Regions from separate parts of the Homo sapiens genome. Here region 2 is linked to region 1. The links are contacts of gene promoters, found by promoter capture Hi-C in blood cells and fetal thymus (Javierre and others, 2016). All regions are on one chromosome and are shown on one strand. The core of a region is centred on a gene start or on the middle of the fragment in contact, and the rest is flanking DNA. Distances in the headings are between cores, read along the strand shown. Region 1 holds the start of RORC (RAR related orphan receptor C). Region 2 overlaps SNX27 (sorting nexin 27).

Region 1 (2,700 bases), core at 69-2,568:
GCTCATCACAGAACACATGGCCAGTCTTTTGTCTCAGAAAGCCCTTCAACCATGCCCTATACCCCCTATAGCTTCCCTAACCTCTGACTCTATTCTGTTATTTTTTTCCTTCTGCTGTTCAGTCTTGACACCTGACATACACACACACACACACACACACACACACACACACACACACAGTGCCCTTCTGCCCGGGAGATGCTCCCCACTGGCAGGCCGTGGTCACTAGGCTGTGTGGAGGCGAGTGGCCTGATGGCCTGGGCTCTGCTGGGGTGAGGGAGGAGAAAAGACTGCCCCGAGGTGGCAAGGCCCCACCCAGCCCCGCCCACCTCCCCTTGCTCCTGCCTGGCCCCACCCAGCTTCCTCCCTGACGTGGCACCGGCTCCTGGCCTCTAGCCTTGCACCTCAGAGCAGTCCTGTGGTGGGGGTGCTCCCCTTGCTCACCCAGGCAGCCAGTTCTTCCTCCACCAGGTGGCCCTGGAGCTTGGTGGCTCTGGCCCTCAAACTTTCCTCCTCCATGCTCACAGCTGACCAAGCCTGTGGCCCTGCGATCCTGCTCTGAGGGGGTTCCTGACTTGGACCATGGGTGGGGCCAAGGACGGCCTGACATTCTGTCCTTCCCTGCTGATGGCCCAGTGCCCCACATTCTCTGCAGAGATGAAATCCCACATCCCTGGGTGAGTGGCGAGGAAAGGACCAGGCTACGTGGTCATGGGCAGCTGACAGGGTGTGGTTCCCCCTGCCACACTCCCCAAGTCTGTCACTCCTTAAAGGACAGGTTTCTCCACTGGTGAATGAACAGAAGGTGGAGCAGCCAGCCTCCCGGCCACTGCTGTCTGGGGTCCTGGCCAGATCAAGGAAGCAGTGTCCCTGTGCCTCCTGGGGGGTAAGCCCACACCTGGGAGGGCCTGTCCACATTCTGACCCCTCGCTGGGTCTAGATCTGGCTCCCCTGACTTGGCTCTTCCCTCCCCATCTACCCTCCAACCTGTTTCTTCCTTCTCCCGCTTCTCCCTTTCTTTCCTGTTTCTCTCCTTTTGCGATTTCTTCTCCTCTGTCATCTCCCCAGCCCCTCCTCCTGTTTCTCCTCCAGTTTCACTCCCTGCCAACCCAGGGCTTTCTCCTCTGCACTCTTGTCCCTCCCTCCCCTCCTCACTTCTTGCCCAGTCTCTTGCCATTTCTGCCCTCCTCTGAACCTCCAGCAGTCTCTTCCACCTGCAGGCAGGGCCATGGGCCTCTTACCCCGTGAGGCTCGGTGCTGTCTCTGTGGGGCCCTGTCCATGGGGCAGCTCCCTTGGTGCCGTCCTGGCTGCCCTGGCTGCCCAGGAGGGCAGGGAGCAGGGCCCAGGGGAGGGAGGAGGGCGGAGGGTGGAAGGCGGGAGCACCTGGCCCTCCAGCAGGCAGGGAAAAGGAGTGGCTGGCAGAGTGTCCTGGCACCAGGAGGGGACATGAGGAGAGACCAGTGGACCAGTGCATGGAGCCTTGAGGAGAAACAGGACAGGAGAAAGGAAGGGAACTAGCATTTATTAATCACTTACTGTGTGCTGGGCCCTTTGCAGGACACTTTATGTAAATCCATGCTTTTACTTTGTGTAAATATTCACAGCACCCACCACAGGGAAACATTATTATTCCAGATTGATCAGTGAGTGGAGGGATTCTCAGAGATATTAATGATTTTGCCCAAGGACTCACACAAGAACAATAAATGGGTGAGCTATGATTTGGACCCAAGTCTTTGTGACTTTAGAATCCTGTGATTTCTACCTAAGACAGGTGACAGGCATAGGGGAGATGGAGAGGGCAGGTTTGGGGGACTGTGTCTCTTCTCTAGGATGCAGTCAGACTCCTCCCAGTGACTGTTCAGTTCCCTGAGGCCTCTGCCTGCTCGGCCCCTGCCCCTAACCCTTGCTGCTCTTGCCAGGACTCCCTGACCCCCTGATGCTTCTACGTGCTCCTCATCTGTTGGGGCAAGGGGCAGGCCTGGAGGAGTGCCTGGAGGCAGAGAAGCCATGGTGGGGAAGAGGAGAGGAGAGATGCTGCACTGGACTCATTGGGAGAAGGAGAGGCTCCCAGACCTAGTGGCCCACACTGAGGCCTGCAGTGAAGGCTCTGAAGGGGGCCAAGAGGACGAGGCTTCTGGGGATCCTGGTGCTGCTTTTCTCCTGCATGGCCTGGGCCCAGAGTTTGATTAGCTGGGCCTGACTCTCCTGGTTACCCAACAAGCAACTGGCCAGGGGCCAGGCTGCAGCAAGAGGCTCCCTGGCACCTCCTCCTGCTCTCGTTCCCAGCTGGTAAACAGCAGAGCAGGAGTCAGCCATGCCACAGCCTCGTGACTCGCCCACTCCCCCCCACCTGGTGCACGTGGCACCTGGCATGGAGAGGGCAAGCAGCTGTCCCTTCCCTCTTCTGCCGTCTCGTCTCGCCATCCTCCACTCCTGCCCAACCCTGGAGCTTCACACTCTGCTACCATCAGCACCTCTGTTCTTAGGTAGCTCCCAGAGTCTCCCCATGGCTGCAGATTGAGAGATAAAGGTAGAAGTGGAGAAGGACTTTTCAACTCCTAGGGTCATTGACAGTGGATGAGTAGTGAGAAAGAGGAGGGGAAGTTTTGGGGACCTTCTGCACTGAGTCTAAGGGTATGTGCCTATGCCTCTGAGGCTCTGATTATCCCCCGTGTTCTTTTGGTAAATGTGGGCCC
Region 2 (2,700 bases), core at 81-2,580, 190 kb before region 1:
CCATGGGAGGGAACCTCCAGGCCTGCTGCCCAGTGGTTTTTGCTGAGAGAGCAGCTGGATCAGCATTCTGGAAGGTAGTTTGGTTTGCTGAGGGAGTCTTGTGAGACTCAGCATCTTTCTTGACAAAATACTTCATCTAAACCTTGTACTTTGTTTGCCTTATTTCAGCCTTTTGTACACAGCAAAACAGGAAGGAAAATTAGTAGGCTGACCATATAATTATAGGTGTATATTTTTTAGTTTGGACTGATTACACAGGACTCTAAATGAGATAGCATAGAGCAGGAAAAAAGTTGATGGAATCCCAAGAGGTTAATTGAATTGGAAACTAGTGTATGTGAAGAGTAATACCATTTAGCTCCCAAAGTAATGAAACTTGGCATAAAGGAAAATTAAGTTGACTGATTTGAGATATGGAGAGAAATTGGATGTAAATGTAAAGGAATTATCTTCAGTCATAACTTTTTTTGAGTCTCTATTTACAAATTAAGAGAATTTATTTTGTGAAGGTTCTTTTAACAGAATTCCTTTGAGGTTTAAAAAGGACAAAGTACAATTCAAGTGGCAGGGCTGTCAAAAGCCACTTTGATTGAATTGTATACATGCTTAGTTAGAATGAGGAAATTGGATTGTTTGACTGAAAAAGCTTTGTTTCCTCCTCAGCTTCAGCCTCTTTCCATGTGCGTTCCTGAAGCTATGTGTGGGATATTAGTATAGAGGAAGGGGAGGTCTTCTCACCTCTTTCCATTTTTCCCCCCGCCATAAGTTCACAAAGTTTTTCACATTAGAAACTGTTAAAACATAAACAACTTTTCTGGAACCAAATTAATCTTTTGACTTCATGGTTCATACCGTGTGACACTGGAGTTTGGGCAGGAGGGTGGAGATACAAGGTGTTTGGACCCTTCTGGTTTATGGGATTGTCTTTTTCCCTTTTTCCCCTTAGGAACCACGTGAATGTTGAGGGGGCGACACACAAGCAGGTGGTGGACCTGATTCGAGCAGGCGAGAAGGAATTGATCTTGACAGTGTTATCTGTACCTCCTCATGAGGCAGATAACCTAGATCCCAGTGACGACTCGTTGGGACAATCATTTTATGATTACACAGAAAAGCAAGCAGTGCCCATATCGGTCCCCAGATACAAACATGTGGAGCAGAATGGTGAGAAGTTTGTGGTGAGTGTCAGCCCAACTCGATCCTCGAACATCTAGCTTTGTTTCCCCTAGTCTTATAATTATGAAACTATTATAGTGGTAGATAAAAGGCTGCAACCTAGGTCAGTTTGTCTACCAGGAGGATGAGTTCACACATAAATAAAAGACACTGACCCTGATTTATTGCAGGGGGTGAATTACAGTAGTGGAAAAGAGTCCTACTCAGCTTGAGTATAATTCCATTTTATTTTTAGATAGTTTCAAGTTTGCATTCTGGTTTGTCGTAAACGTGTGAGTTTTTGTTTAGTTTCTTTTTTGTTTGTTCTTTTGTTGGTTGCCGTATCTCTTTGCTAATAGTATCTTATTTACTGTTGATTCTGTGGTGCTATAGGGCAAGATTAATGTAAAAGGATGGTGTCCTTCAAGATATTTGGGTAATAGAGAGGTTCACCCATTTCAGAACTTAGATGTCTCTACTCTTCTTTCCACATCATGTTCTTTTTCATTTTCTTTGGAGATATCCGTGTGAATGATTAACTGTGGTTTTTCCCACGAGTTTCCTGAATGCAATTCCCATGAGCTGTTTCACACATTTCTAATCTGTTGCTGTTGTAGCTATGCAGGAAAGCCCATCTTGAATTTTTAGTGATGTGTGCTAGCCCCTTTGCTGAATGCCTTTGTTCTTCAGAGCCTAATTGCCACTGATAGCTCAGTCTACTTAATTTTTCTTTTGGTTGCAATATGCTTTATTTGCCTTTAATTATTTGTGGAGTGTTGATATAATGAGAAATGTTCATTATTCTTAGTAGAAAATGCAGTGGGTTCTGTTAGATGCTGGCAAACAGACTACAGGTTTTAAAGCTTAACAGTTGACTAAAGTTACAGTCTCTAAAACTGAGATTTATCCTCTGCATAGGAACGAGCTACTAAACATTTATGGTAAATTCTTTTTAGTGAAGAGATAAGAAAAGCAAGGAAGCTAAAAGAGTTGCAGAGGATCAAATAATGCTTGGTTGCATCTGTAATTAGCTGTAGATAATGGCATATAGGTTTTATTTCAGCATGGACTTCTGTAGTCTTAGAACCACACACAGAATTTAGAGTTTTATGCTTCCTAAGTGCTAACTTTGAGTCATAAGGCATGTAAGAAGTTGAAATCAAGGTCACATCCTAAAAGTAGAGCAGTCTGGATGTTGAGACCTTTTGGGAATTACCTAAAACCTTGGAAACCTGAGAAAAGGAATAATACTACCAATTGTACCTTTGTTTATTTTTATTTTTATTATATATATTTTTTAAGACGAAGTCTCACTCTGTCCCCCAGCCTGGGGTACAGTGGTGTGATCTTGGCTCACTGCAATCTCTGCCTCCCGGGTTCAAACAATTCTGCCTCAGCCTCCCAAGTAGCTGGGATTACAGGTGCGCACCACCATGCCCTGCTAAGTTTTGTATTTTTAGTAGAGATGGTGTTTCACCATGTTGGCCAGGCTAGTCTCGAACTCCTGACCTCAGGTAATCCACCTGCCTCAGCCTCCCAAAGTGC

Evidence for each region. Contacts are between HindIII fragments. The CHiCAGO score rates a contact against its expected background, and 5 or more counts as called.
Region 2: a fragment that was not itself captured here is called in contact with the fragment with the promoter of RORC in region 1 in 2 of 17 cell types (M1 macrophages and naive CD4 T cells); the score reaches 6.8 in M1 macrophages.

The regions. Positions count from the first base shown.
Region 1 is chr1:151,830,484-151,833,183 of GRCh38, forward strand. RORC (RAR related orphan receptor C) reads right to left here and starts at 1,319. Exons shown (of 11, transcript NM_005060.4): 1 at 1,242-1,319. The coding sequence starts at 1,281. RefSeq lists an enhancer at 1-627. The HindIII fragment of the contact is 14,534 bases long and covers 1-2,700 here.
Region 2 is chr1:151,637,942-151,640,641 of GRCh38, forward strand. SNX27 (sorting nexin 27) reads left to right here. Exons shown (of 12, transcript NM_001330723.2): 2 at 947-1,178. Among named protein-coding and RNA genes, the nearest start is that of SNX27, 27 kb to the left of the region's middle. The HindIII fragment of the contact is 1,372 bases long and covers 645-2,016 here.